Regions from separate parts of the Homo sapiens genome. Here region 2 is linked to region 1. Evidence: promoter capture Hi-C in human tissues and cell types (Jung and others, 2019). All regions are on one chromosome and are shown on one strand. Each heading gives the region's core, a stretch centred on a gene start or on the middle of the fragment in contact. The rest is flanking DNA. Distances are from core to core; before and after follow the strand shown.

Region 1 (7,420 bases), core at 282-2,781:
CTTCCCAGCCTCCCCTCCACCTTTGCAATTCACCAGACTGGGGGCCAAAGCGGCTTCAAACGACCCTGGAGGGTGGTGCTTTCAAGGTCTTGGGACCACGGACTTGTCTGAAAATCCGAAGGCGTTGGATCTTCTCTTCCCCAGAAAAATGCACCCGCTTTCAGAGGTTCGTGTCCCACGCTTTTCTTTCTATCCCAACCTTGTAAGAAGCCGCCGCCGTGAGCGGAGCAGCACCTTCCTCCGCGGGTCGCGGGAGTCACCTACGGGAAGGGACTCTCCGTCTGGCACAGGCCCTGTCTGGCCTGGGGCGCGCATGCTCCGCCGCCGAATCTTCCAGAAAGCCGTGGACCCGAGGCCCCGGCAGACGCAGGCGGCCCAGCGCCTTGCTTTTGGCCCCTCGCCTCGCCCTGGAGCCCTCTCTCGCAAGGTAAGGGACTGCCGGGAACGCAGATCGCAAGCCGTCGGGGCTCTGTAGAACTCAGAGGCGCTCGGCGGAAAGCTCGCCAGGCGACCCAGACCCGAACCCGCGGGCTCCCCAAGACAACAGCGCCGGGCGGCCGGATGCACGTGCGTCCCGGGAAGGCGGGTTCAGCTGGCATCGCCTGGCCGGTTCCGTTCGCTCCTTAAACCACAAGACCCCCTTGGGGTCACGACGTTCCCGGGGCACCCCTGCACTCGCGCGCCAGCACTCCCGGAGGGGCCTGGGGAAGGCCACGCGCACGGAGAGCGGGAAACTCCTCTAGGTTTCCAGGTGGGAGATCCAGACCCTACTGAGACCCGGAAACCGCCGGCCACTCCGCCTCCGGAAGCGACACTTTGGGACAAAGCTGGGGACAAGTAAGCCCAGAAGATCCTCGGGAAGCCGAGAATTTCGCGCTCCGCTCTCCCACCCACGCTCCGCCTCCCGCTTGCATCCTACAGCTCAGCTGCGGTCTCGCCTGGGGCTCAGGGAAGTGAGGTCCCAGGAAAACCTCCATCCCCCGAACGCAACCTGGGCAGAGCCCCGCGTCCCTCCCCCAGCGGGCACCCACCTCGCGTGCCGCCCGCGCAACGACAGCGTTTACCGCCACCCCACACGGTCCGCCAAAAAGGGCGATTTGCAAACAGCCATTTCCCATCCACAATGCAGCGAACTCAATGCTGGGCACCGAAACGTGCATCTCCCCCGGATTCCCACCCCGCGTCCCTGCTCCACGCTCCAGGACTCGCCGCCAGTGGGGTCCACTCCGCCGGCGCGGGGGCTGGGGTGGGAGCCCGGGGCCACGTGCACGGCCAGCCCCCATCTTCTGGGCGGTCAAGACCGCAGGCGTGGGCGCCGGTGGGGCGGGGGTCTTGGGAGACCCTGTCTCGCCGCCTTTCGGTGCAGATGATGCAACTCTGGGCGGAGGCGCGGAGAGGGAAACCGGGACCCAGTTGAGATCCTCTGTCCAGAGAGGGGAGCGAGTCTCGGTGGGGCCGGATCTCACCTGGACGGATACATGGAAAAGAGGGGCGAGCGGCTGCCCCGACTGCGGCGAGGCGGAGACGGCGACCCCGGGGTGGCGGCCTCGCGGGGACCCACGGCGAGGGGAGCAGGCGGGCGGTGATTGGCGGAGAGGCGGGGGCGGAGGCCGGCGCCGGCCAATGTCTCGTGGCAGAGCACCCGCCCCCCCAGCCCCTCCTCCACCCCACCCAGCCCGGGCCCCTCCCCCCCACCCCTTCCCCACCCCGCCGCAGCCTGGGACCCTCCGGCCTGCCCGACCCCCGCCCTCCCCGGGACCCCGGCATGCCCCCACCCCAGTCCGCCCGCCCCATTCCCACGCCCTGTTGATTCAACCGCAGACCCGGGTCGCCGCCCCCTCCCCCGCCTTCCTCTTCGCCTGAGCCCGCCCGCCCCGGGTTCCAGCCACCCCCACCCGCGGACCCCGGTGGTGTCTTCTACCTGGTGTTCCGATGCTGTTTTACTTGGTTAACTTCTTGCCCTTCGGGAATTTAAGGAACCTTTACTGATGAGCTTGAAACGTGCGTCCTGGTGGGTGGGGGGCCCTGCGCGTCCTCGAGGACCGACCCCGAGGGCGTGTGTCGCGGGCCCGGGAGGGGGCGCCGCGCCGGGGCGGGACTCGATGGCCGCGCTCTGTGGCCGCCGGACGCCGTGCGCAGCGCCCCGCGTGACCGCGCCCAGAGCCGGGTCCGAACCCCGAGCCGAGGCGCAGAACAGTCGCCTTGCGCGGCTCCGGTGCGGCCCACGGCCAGGGGCTGCCGGGCGCTCTCGGGGACGGGGCCGACTCCGCGCAGGGTGGTAGCAGGGGCGCCCCGCGGGGCTCCTTCGCCAGGTCCCGGAGGCCGCGGGCGGGGCCGTTTCCCAAACATCGTGCTCTGGACTTTCAGAGGCTGAACCTGATCCCCCCGCCCTATGGCTAAATGGGGGATCCCAGGCCCCCGAGTCTCCCCCCGGACCTGCAGCGAAAGACACGGACGGTGCCCATCAGCTCTGGGCAGAGGAACGTGCTGCGCCTCCGCAGCGTCCCCGGCTCAGGTCAGAGCGATGCTCCGCAGCCTCCTCCGGCCCGCGCAGCTCCGCCGCGGTCTCTGCCACGTGGGGCTCACAGTAGGGGAGGGAGTGAGACGTGAATTAGAATTAAATGTCCACTGGCAGGAACTGACACGAAGAACAATAAAGCCGGCGATGTGGGGAGGGGACAGGGATGGAGTTACATCATGAAGGCTCTGGAAGGTGGCATTGGAGGCCGGGATCGCGCCACTGTCCTCCAGCCTGTGCGACTGAGCGAGACTGTCTCCAGAAAAAAAAAAAAAAAAAAAAAAAAAAAAAAAAATCCTGTCCAGTCTTTATAAGAAGAGAGACGTGGACACAGACACGCGGAGAGAAAAAGGCCATGTGGAGATGGCGGCAGAGATGAGATGTGCTGCCACCAGACGAGAAATGGCAGGGATGGCTGGCGGCCTCCACAGGGCTGGGAAAGGTGGCCAGGGCCTCCCTCAGAGCCTTCAGCCAGCCTGCGGGAGAGAAAGATGATAAACGGTGTTGTTTTTGTTGTTGTTGTTTGAGACAGAGTCTGTGTCACACAGGCTGGAGTGCAATGGTGAGATCTTGGCTCACTGCAGCCTCAGCCTCCCGGGTTCAAGCGATTCTCCTGCCTCAGCCACCCGAGTAGCTGGGATTACAGGCACGCACCACCATGCCAGGCTAATTTTTGTATTTTTAGTAGAGACGGGGTTTCATCATGTTGACCAAGCTGGTCTCGAACCCCTAACATCAGGTGATCCATCCGCCTCGGCCTCCCAAAAGTGCTAGGCTCACAGGAGTGAGCCACCGCGCCCAGCCCAATGTGTGTTGTTTTAAACCACTCAAGTTTGCAGTAATTTGTTACACAGCCCAAATACTTTTTAATTTTTTAGAAATTTTAACGTAATTTTAGATTAGAAAAGTGGCAAGAACCATACAGAATGTCATATTCCCTCATCCAGATTTTCCAAATATTAATTTTTTTTGCTTCTATTATCAGAAACTCATTGTTATTTCAAATGTTAAGTTTTTACTACATTTGCTCCCTCTCTGTCTCTCCACACACACACACACACACACACACACACACACACGTGTGCAGGTGTGTATGAATCTGTCACTCAGTCTATCTGGTTTCTCTAACTTGTTATTTTGTTTTGTTTTGTTTCTTTTTGAGACAGAATCTTTCTCTGTCACCCACGCTGGAGTGCAGTGGTGTGATTTCAGCTCACTGCAACCTCCCCCCCACGCTGGAGTGCAGTGGTGTGATTTCGGCTCACTGCAACCTCCCTCTCCCGGGTTCAAGCGATTCTTCTGCCTCAGCCTCCCAAGTAGCTGGGATTACGGGTGCCTGCCACCACACCTGGCTATTTTTTGTATTTTTTTTTAAGTAGAGACGGGGTTTCACCATGTTGGACAGGCTGGTCTCGAACTCGTGGCCTCAGGTGATCCACCTGCCTCGGCCTCCCAAAGTGCTGGGATTACAGGGGTAAGCCACTGCAGCCAGCCCACTCTCTAGTTTTAACACTTACTGATGATTTTGTCTGAATTGATTTTTATTAAAATGGTTGCTGAGCTGTGGCTCACACCTGTAATCCCAGCACTTTGGGAGGCTGAGGCGGGCGCATCACGAGGTCAAGAGATTGAGACCATCCTGGCCAACATGGTGAAACCTCGCCTCTACTAAAAATACAAAAATTAGCTGGGCATGGTGGTGCGTGCCTGTAATCCCAGCTACTCGGGAGACTGAGGCAGGAGAATCACTTGAACCAAGGACTCGGAGGTTGCAGTGAGCTGAGATTGTGTCATTGCACTCCAGCCTGGCGACAGAGCAAGACTCCGTCTCAAAAAAAAAAAAAAGTAAATAAATAAGTAAAATAAAATAAAATAAAATGGTTGCTGAATAGTGGTTTTTCTAAGCCCATCACTCCTCCATGTACCATTTGGCATTCCATTATTAGAGTTTTCCTTCTCCCTCATTTATTTATTCACTTAGTTATATCAATGTGAGCCGTAGGTCCTATTTTAAAATGAAAAAGCTACACCTGACCACTGAAAGTGCACGAATGGCCAAGTGGGGTGGCTCACACCTGTAATCCCAGCACTTTGGGAGGCCAAGGTGGGAGGATCACCTGAGGTCCGGAGTTTGAGATCAGCCTGGTCAACATAGCAAAACCCCGTCTCTAGTCTCTACTAAAAATACAAAAACTGGCCAGCGCAATGGCTCACGCCTGTAATCCCAGCACTTTGGGAGGCCAAGGCGGGTGGATCGCCTGAGGTCAGGAGTTCGAGACCACCCTAGCCAACATGGTGAAACCCCGTCTCTACTAAAAATACAAAAAAAAAAGAAAGAAAGAAAGAAAGAAAGAAAAAATACAGCTGGTTGTGGTGGCAGGCACCTGTAATCCCAGCTACTCGGGAGGCTGGAGCAGGAGAATCGCCTGAACTTGGGAGGTGGAGGTTGCAGTGAGCTGAGATCGCGCCACTACACTCCAGCCTGGGCAACAAGAGCGAAACTCCATCTCAAAAAAAAAAAAAAAGAAAAAAAGAAAAAAGAAAAACACATCTCCCCGGCCCTCATCATTTTCTAGCCTCTGCCTCATTTCTGTGTCTGCCTACATGAGAGGAGGCACTGCAGGAGCAGAGCCCCCAGGAGGGCCTGGCCCACCACATTGTACTGGGAAGGAGCTCAGAGCCAGAGATGCAGGAATGCTGGCGTCCTGTGGACAAGGTGGAAGAGCTTCCTTCTAATCACCTCTGTTTCTTCAAAGGAATAGGCCTGACAGCTGGTCAGCAGCAAGTGGACAGCGAGGCCGAGCTGATGGAGGGTTTTGTTGTTGTTACTTTTGTTCAGAGTATAACACGTATGCAGAAAGTGCACATGTCATGAGTGGACAGAGGATAAACCGCTACCCCACTGGGGGGCGAGCAGAGGGGAGAGGCCTGGGCCTGCACCATCCCCTGGTGGCCGGAAGGCTGGGCCCTCAGAACTGGAGGAGATTGGAGGAGGAGGAGGAGGAAGAGGAAGGGAAGGAGGAGGAAGAGGAAGGGAAGGAGGAGGAAGAGGAAGGGAAGGAGGAGAGGTGGGCAGCACTGAGGGCTCCTGCGAATTTCCATTCACAAGTTTCCCAGGCCCCTGGCAGCACGGCTGTGCTTTTCTCTGGCTGCGGTGAGTGGCCCGCGTGGCAGGGCAGGGGAAGAGCGCTGGAGATGGTCGTGTGTGTTTACGAGATTCTCTCTCCCTGCCCAAGTCACGGCAGTGGCGGAAACTTACCCACCCTTTGGATTTGGGCTGAGCCGTGGTTTGCTTCACCCCTTGGGACACACAGCAGAAGGGAGTGTGCCTGTTTGCAGCTGAGACCTCAGGGACAGCGGCCCTGACCTCAACCTGCAGCCCGGGGCCCAGCCCTGCAGAGCCCGGCAGGGGAAGAACAAAATGCCCTTTGCTGGGAGCCACCGGGACTGGGGCTGTTTGCAGGCTGGGTTACGTGTGAGAGTGAAGTTTTGTCTGAGTGTGTTGGTGGGAGACGGCACAGACGGGAGGCTGAGCTGCGTTTGTTTGCAGGGATCTGCGCTGGGTGGGGCGGGAAGGATGGGCAGCAGGCGGCAGGGACAGTGAAAAGCTGGTGGGTCCATGGACAGGCAGCGTCACTGGAGAGAAAGAACTGCCGATGGAGAGTTCTAGAATAAGGAGCTGGAGCATCCGAGGGGCTGAAGGGCTGGCACTATAGCAACAATGCCCTTTGGGTATGAGAGGAGGGGAGGATTTGTGTAGGTCGGTGGCCAAGATCGTTCTGAGGGGAGGGTTCCTGAGCCCAGGCGTCCAGGAGGAGCTTGGATCTTTAATTTCTTTCAGTGGTGTTTTGGGATTTGGGGTATGTAAGTCTCACACTTCTTTGGTTACATTTATTCCTTTTGACTTGAGGGGCGAGTCTGCTGGCCCAGGAATGCAGGCGGTCCGTGTCTCAGGTTGGCTGCACGTCTTCCAGCAACGCTGTGTCATTTTCCGAGAGTAACGTGTGCACTCACTCACTTTCACGCCATCTCTCCACTCTGCATTTGGGCAAGCAGAGTTCCTGCTCCCCGTTCTGCGTGTCTGCCCCACCCCCACACCCCCACATCCCACCTTCAGTTACTAATACTGTATCTTTTCTTTTTCTTTTTCTTTCTTTTTTTTTTTTTTTTGAGATGGAGTCTCACCCTATCACCCAGGCCAGAGTGCTGTGGTGTGATATTGGCTCACTGCAACCTCCGCCTCCCGGGTTCAAGCGATTCTCCTGCTTCAGCCTCCCGAGTAGTTGGGATTACAAGCATGCGCCACCACGCCCAGCTAATTTTGTATTTTTTAATGGAGACAGGGTTTCTCCATGTTGGTCAGGCTTGTCTCGAATTCCCAACCTCAGGTGATCCACCCGCCTCAGCCTCCCAAAGTGCTGGGATTATAGGCGTGAGCCACCGCACCCAGCCTGTATCTTTCATTTTTCTAGAGACAGGGTCTCGCTCTGTCTCCCAGGCTGGAGTGCAGTGGTGCATTCATGGCGCCCTGCAGGCTTGACCTCCTGGGCTCAAGTGATTCTCCTGCCTCAGCCTCCCAAGTAGCTGGGAGCACAGGTGTGAGCCACCACACCCGGCTACAGTTACTAATGCTATTGCTACCGACAACGGCAACAACTGACTGCCATGCACTGATTGCGGATGTGCCAGGCCCTGCTCTGGGAGCTTCACCTGTGTTACCTGACAGGATCTTCCTAACACTGAAGGAGGGGCACGACCTGACCATCCCTTTACAGAAGAGAAAGACGAGTGTGCAGGAACAGGGAGCAGAGCTGGGTGAGACCAGGCGGCGGGACTCCTGGGCCCACTCTTACCCATGGGACTTTGTGGTCCTCCCACGACGCCAATCAGCCCCAGTTTGAA
Region 2 (6,953 bases), core at 657-3,156, 140 kb before region 1:
TGCCTCTGCCTCCCAAAGCGCTGGGATTACAGCCACGAGCCACCATGCCCGGCCTTCTTTTTCTCTTTCCAGCATTGGCTTTGAAATCTTATGAAATCCAAGCGGATGGGAGCCTAAGCTAACGAGTATGTCTTGATGGTTTTAGTTCATCAGAACCCTTGCCAAGACTTTTATTTTTAAATGTACGGCTTAAAATATATCATCCTCGGCCCTGAGCCAATGAGAGGAAGCCAAGGTAAAACACTCTCTTCTCCAGGACATATGGAAAGTCGCTGCTGCCGGAGTAAGGGAGAAATTCTAGAAAGGACGTTCTAGTGCAACAGGCAAAGTTTCATGGCACCGACAGCTATTTTCCAGGAAAGAAGCTTTAAACTATGGAGTTTATGGAAAAAAAGAAAGGGGGGAAAAGACATTTCTGCAAACTGACCTAAGCCCTGGGAATCTGAACCTTCCTATCTGAGGAAAGGGAGGGGGGACTCCGAGGGCCTCTGCAGGACACAGGTGCAATGTTTACCTGCTGCTGTCAGTGAGGATCCTCTGCATGGAGGAGCCCTTCCTTGGCCTGAGTTGTACTTAAAAGCAGGCACTTGTCTTTCATTTTTTTGAGACAGGGTCTCACTCTGTCCCCCAGGCTGGAGTGCAGTGGCGTGACCATGGCTCACTGCAACCTCCACCTCCCGGGTTCAAGCGATTCTCCCACCTCAGCCTCCCAAGTAGATGGGACCACAGGCGTGCACCACCACGCCCAGCTCATTTTTGTATTTTTTGCTAGAGATAGGGTTTCACCATCTTGGCCAGACTGGTCACAAACTCTTGACCTCAAGTGATCTTCCTACCTCAGCTTCCCAAAGTGCTGAGATTTCAGGCGTGAGCCACCGCGCCAGCCCAGGCTGTTGTCTTTCTCATGGCTTTGAGTTTCCACCCTTCCTCCCTTTTCCTTGTGCCACTGAGCACTTTAAAAATCCTAATTGTGTCACCAGACGGGTTGCAAACTAAGGCATCTACTTGCGGGAGTCAGCCTAAGCCAGCTCATGGGGCTTGAAGTTTTCTTTGGTTTTTTGTTTCTTGTTTTTTTTTTTTTTTTTTTTTTTTTTGAGACGGAATTTTGCTCTTATTGCCGAGGCTGGAGTGCAATGGTGCGATCTCAGCTCACTGCAACCTCTGCCTCCCGGGTTCAAGCGATTCTCCTGCTTCAGCCTCCCGAGTAGCTGGGATTACAAGCATGCGCCATCAAGCTTGGCTGATTTTTTTGTATTTTTAGTAGAGATGGGATTTCTCCATGTTGGCCAGGCTGGTCTTGAACTCCCGACCTCAGGTGATCCACCCACCTCGGCCTCCCAAAGTGCTGGGATTGCAGGCGTGAGCCACCGCCCCCGGTCACAGTATTTTTAAGGTGTATTTTCCAGCATCTTTTGATGCTCTTCATACTTTTTTCAACCTTTCAGTTATTTAAGTGCATCATTCTCTTTCCACAATCTCAGCACCCTGAGGGTTTCCGCTTCTCTTCTGCCCCTTTGGTGAATGCTCTATTTATGATTCTTCTTGTAAAACTGAACACGTTGGGTGGCTCTTCCACTCAGCCCAGCTGGAGCTACACTGCCTAGAGGCCAGGGTGATCCTGGGATGTCACAAGCGCAGTGAAGGGACCCTTATGTTACAGGAAAGGGGTCCAGATCCAGACCCCAAAAGAGGGTTCTTAGATCTCGTGCCAAAAAGAATTCAGGGCCAGTCTGTAAAGCGAAACCAAGTTTATTAAGAAAGTAAAGGAATAAGGGAATGGCTACTCCAAAGGCGGAATAGGAATACGACTAGGAAACGGCATGCAGTGCTACTAGATAGTCAAAGTTTCAGATTTTTTAATTTATTGTTGGGATTGGGGTGTCGTTAGAAAAAAGTATGAAAAGAGACGGTTAGCAGTGCAATTGAAGACATGTTAGGTTAATATATAATGTATGAGTCTGTGTAACGGATAGTTTTTATTCATCATAAAATTCTCAAAAGACTCACAGATGTGTGGCCCTTGCAGCTGTTCTTCCCTTGCTAACAGCGTTAGGCTCTGACTCAGAGGAGTTTTGTGCCAAAGAATTCTGGCAGCGTCTACAGTTCTTGTGAAATTCCCAGTGAGGAAATCGTTCACTGTGAGCAGGGGCGATGATGACAAGACGATCCAGGGGATGGGGAAGGAGCCCAGGAAGAAAGAATACAGAGCCCCGGGCATGTGAAATGTATCAGCCTCAAAATTCTTATCTTTCTTTACATCTTTCTATTTACAAAGTCTTGTTTTTGTTTTTGTTTGAGATGGAGTTTCACTCTGTCGCCCAGGCTGGAGTGCAGTGGCACTATCTTGGCTCACCACAACCTCCGCCTCCCAGCTTCAAGCACTTCTCCTGCCTCAGCCTCCCGAGTAGCTGGGATTACAGGCACGCGCCACCACACCTGGCTAATTTTGTATTTTTAGCAGAGATGGGGTTTCTCCATGTTGGTCAGGCTGGTCTCAAACTCCCGACTTCAGGTGATTGCCAGCCTCGGCCTCCCAAAGTGCTGGAATTACAGGTGTGAGCCACCACACCCGACCCTGTTTTTGTTTTTTGACATGCAGTCTCACTGTGTCACCGAAGCTGGAGTGCAATGGTATGATGCTGGCTCACTGCAGCTTCCACCTCCCAGGTTCAAGGGATTCTCCTGCCTCAGCCTCCCCAGTAGCTGGGACTACAGGTGCCCGCCACCACAACCAGCTAATATTTGTATTTTTAGTAGAGATGGGGCTTCACCATGTTGGCCAGGCTGGTCTCAAACTCCTAACCTGAGGTGATCCACCTGCCTTGGCCTCCCAAAGTGCTGAGATTACATGTGTGAGCCACCGCACCCAGCCCAAAGTCTGTTTTTCTTGGCGGGGGTTGGCAGTCAGGGAGCAAATCAGAGTGGCCTATGCACAAAAGGTTGAGAACAGAACTGTGATTTGGAGAGGGAATTCTCCAGCCAGCGTGTCACAAAGCCGCTCACCTGCTCGTGTGAGTGTCTGAATGCACGTGTTTGAGTGTCAGGGGCGTGTGAACCACAGCAACTCAATCTTGAATAGGGGCTGGGTAAAGTGAGGCTGAGACCTCCCGGGGCTGCATTCCCAGATGGTTAAGGCATTCTAAGTCACAAGATGAGATAGGAAGTTCGCACAAGACACTGGTCATAAAGACCTTGCTGATAAAACAGGTTGCAGTAAAGAAGCCGGCTAGGGCCGGGCGCGGTGGCTCATGCCTATAATCCCAGCACTTTGGGAGCCCAAGGCAGGCGGATCACCTGAGGTCAGGAGTTCGAGACCAGCCTGACCAACATGGAGAAACCCTGTCTCTACTAAAAAGTACAAAATTAGCCGGGTGTGGCGGTGCATGCCAGTAGTCCCAGCTACTCGGGAGACTGAAGCAGGAGAATTGCTTGATCCCGGGAGGCGGAGGTTGTGGTGGGCCGAGATCGCACTATTGCACTTCAGCCTGGGCAACAAGAGTGAAACTGTCTCACACACACACAAAAAGTTATAGGTAGGACAATTTCCAGGTATGGTTGTTTTGCAATCAGGGCATCTCAGCGGGTCCACCAAATAGGAGGTTTGTCTCTGTGCCTGGATGGTTTCATTACTCATTCATGAGACAAAGAGCGGGAAGGTAGAGGGTCTGGGTGTGGCTTTGTCACAGGTAAACACTGGTGCCGGATGGGCACGGTGGCTCAAGCCTATAATCTTAGCACTTTGGAAGGTGGAGGCAGGAGGATCCGTTGAGCCCAGGAATTTGAGACCAGCCTGCACAACATGGCGAGATCTCATCTCTACAAAAATTTAAAAGTTAACCAGGCATGGTGGTGCATGCCTGTAATTCCAGCTACTCTGGAGGCTGAGGTGGGAAGATTGACCCAGCCCAGGAAGCGGAGGTTGCAGTGAGCTATGATTGCACCATTGCACTCCAGCCTGGGCAACGGGGCGAGACCCTGTCTCAAAAACAAAAACAAAATGTAGGATATAATAAATTCTTCTTCAAAGGTTTTAGCCTGTAAATTGTTTAGTACAATGAGTTCTGAGATCCTCTCCAAAGAACCAGTGCATCAGTATGTTCAGCTCCCCTGTTCTTTGTTCTTCATTTTAAAATTTAATTTCCTCTTTCCCTTCGTCTCCTAGCCCCTAGTTTCAGTGAACAGTCCCCTCCTAGCCTCTATCACCTGCTCTGACCTGAGTCATTCTGAGTCACCTGTTTTGTAACCATCCTTCCCGCCAAACTACTCACCCCGCCACTCCAGCTCGTACCCCTGCTCTCTTTAAAACAGCCAACTGGAATTAGCTTAGACGGTGCGGTCCAACCCTAGCTAATATGGGAATGACACAGCAGTAGGGGCTGCATGCATCAGGGATAAGAACCCCTTCCCTTCCCTTTTCAGATTTGCTCTCACCATTGCTCCACCCTCGAGGTGCACCCTCCTATAGAAGTAACATTGCCTTGCTGAGAAAATTAAATTTATGTTTGAGTGCTATTTCTTTGTGGCACCAAAAATTTATTTCTAACAAAAAGAAAGAAAAAACCAACACTGGTGCCATCCTAGAGTTCTGGGGAGTCATGAGCAAGTGCACACTGCGAGTCTTACTGAAGTCACAGGGGAGGGGTGGGACACAGTGTGGGGATCTCTCCAGGGCTCTGCTCTCTGGTGCACAGGGCTCAGGGAAGGCCCGGCATTTGGCAGTTGCCCAGTGACTCGGGGAAAAGAGGGATGGACCACACTCAGAACCCTGCTTAGGGCAGCAGAAGGATGTAGGCACTGTCCCTGGTACCCAGGCAGCAGGCTGGGCATTCCTTGGTCAATGTTTGCCAGGCACATGATAACCTAAGTGTGCAGGTGATGTTCAAGCCAGGTCAGGACATGGGGAACCACCTGGCTTCTCTCCAGTGCTTGCCATGATGTCCCAAATGAAGGTGATTTTTTTTTCTTTTTTTTGAGACTAGGTCTCATTCTTTTGCCCAGGCTGCAGTGCAGTGTCAAGATCACGGCTCACTGCAACCTCTGCCTCCTGGGCTCAAATGATCTGCCCACATCAGCCTCCTGAGTAGCTGGGACCACAGGCGCCCACCACCATGGCCGGCTAATTTTTTGTACTTTTAGTAAAGACGGGCTTTCACCATGTTAGCCAGGATGGTCTCGATCTCCTGACCTCGTGATCCACCTGCCTCGGCCTCCCAAAGTGCTGGGATTACAGGCCTGAGCCACTGCACCCAGCCAAGTGCTGGGAACCATTTTCTAAACATGGCCCCAGGATCAAATCCATTCCACACTTGCATGGGCACATGTGCCAGTTTTGTCGTATCTCTAACTATGTCTTCAACTGCTTGCCCTTCATTATCTATGTGTACGCAGCAATTAGTAAGGTTAAATTTCCTACAGACCTTTCCTTCAGCTGCTAGCAAGTAGTTGAGAGCTAATCTATTTTGACATATAGCATTTCTCATCTGAGCTTCTTGCCAGGCCACAATAGTCAAGGCTCTGCTGGTTTTATTAATGTTTATTTTTAAGACAGCTTGTAACTGTATGATTCGGTTGATCATGTAAATGGGGGTCCGGTATCCCCACGAGCCGTCTTGTGCCTAAGTAGCAGGACTATAATGTTGTATGATTCTCTCAGGGGGCCATTTATCATTTTTTCAATTTCTTATGGCTACGATTCTCTTTTCGTGGGAAGAATAGACAGGGAAGCCCAGGAGTTCGCCTGTTTTTTTGGGCAGTAGGAAGAAAGATGGTTTAATAGTACCAATAACACAACTACCTGCCTACTGGTCAGGTAATTTGGCGTAAGCTCTGTGCCTACATATCCAGTATAATCCAGTGGGGGCTGTCCAGTCCTGGTGGGACTCCGGGTGGGTCCACACAGTTTGCAACTTTGGGAATTTACTAAATGGATTTCTCTCTGTGTGATTTGAACTGGAGTTCACTGGAGTCCACCAAGTGACTGTTTTTGTGGTATCATTATACAGTTTCTGTCTCCGACAACTAAGTCGTCCTCTGGGGTGAGTGAATTCTCTTCCTTCTCTAGCTATGCAATATTGTCTAATAATTGAGGCTTTTAGGACCAGAAATTATCAGGGTGATTCTTTTGAGCCAGGAATTCATCAGGAACTGGGTCTGTAGGTACTAATTCTCGGGCTTCCCATGGCCATTGATCTCTTATTACAGCTTCTCCACATACATAGCATGAAGTGACATTGAGAGACTGGGCTATATGCTCAACTAATTTCAAAAACAAATTTCTTGTTTTTCCTGAAATTTCTGGTACTGGCACATTTAGTTCATCATAGGAAGTTTGAAACACTGGCTCAGGAAAGCGTTTGTAAACTTCTCCTTGAACCAAGATATTTAGTTGAGGATCCAGTCTGGCCCAATCAATTCCTAAGGTCACGCGCTCCTCTGTTTTTCTAGCGAGGGTCAAGGGGCTTGGTTATTACTAGCTCTAAGGGGTTACATTGTCCCTTAGTACAGGAAGGGCCATTTTTTCCTTTCTGAAGGTGGACTGGATCTTTTTCATTTTCTTTTTGTCCAAGTGGCCAAAATGACACAAGACCAGTGTTTACATTTATTTCCACACAGTGCTAATTTATGACAGATGTATTTATTTTCTGCCATATAGCCTTTTCTAATGAAGAGAACCACAACTTATTCCTAACTTACTACTATTAATGACAGCACAGGCATCAAATTTTAAGATGAATTGTTTGGGCACCCCTTTTTCTTCTGTTTTGGCTAACACTTCACTCGTATCATTTATGAGTCCACACCAGTCCTCAGTCCTTAATCTTATTTTAAAAACTATGGTCATGGGAGGCTCAGATGGGTCATAACACACATCAGGTTGGTCACTTCCTGGGCTACATACTTTGTATAGAATAACATTACACGAACAAGTTCTTTTTAGAGTTCCAGTACACTTA

What was found. Contacts are between HindIII fragments. The study calls those that stand out against the background at their distance.
Region 2: a fragment that was not itself captured here is called in contact with the fragment with the promoter of CBS in region 1 in 5 of the 25 tissues and cell types used here (adrenal gland, dorsolateral prefrontal cortex, mesenchymal stem cells and 2 more).

Annotation. Positions count from the first base shown.
Region 1 is chr21:43,074,304-43,081,723 of GRCh38, forward strand. CBS (cystathionine beta-synthase) reads right to left here and starts at 1,532. Exons shown (of 17, transcript NM_000071.3): 1 at 1,467-1,532. RefSeq lists a silencer at 5,873-6,044. The HindIII fragment of the contact is 35,360 bases long and covers 1-7,420 here.
Region 2 is chr21:42,938,204-42,945,156 of GRCh38, forward strand. LOC124905023 (a long non-coding RNA gene) reads right to left here. Exons shown (of 2, transcript XR_007067882.1): 2 at 6,586-6,953. Among named protein-coding and RNA genes, the nearest start is that of MIR5692B, 9.3 kb to the right of the region's middle. RefSeq lists an enhancer at 1-541. The HindIII fragment of the contact is 5,282 bases long and covers 1-4,547 here.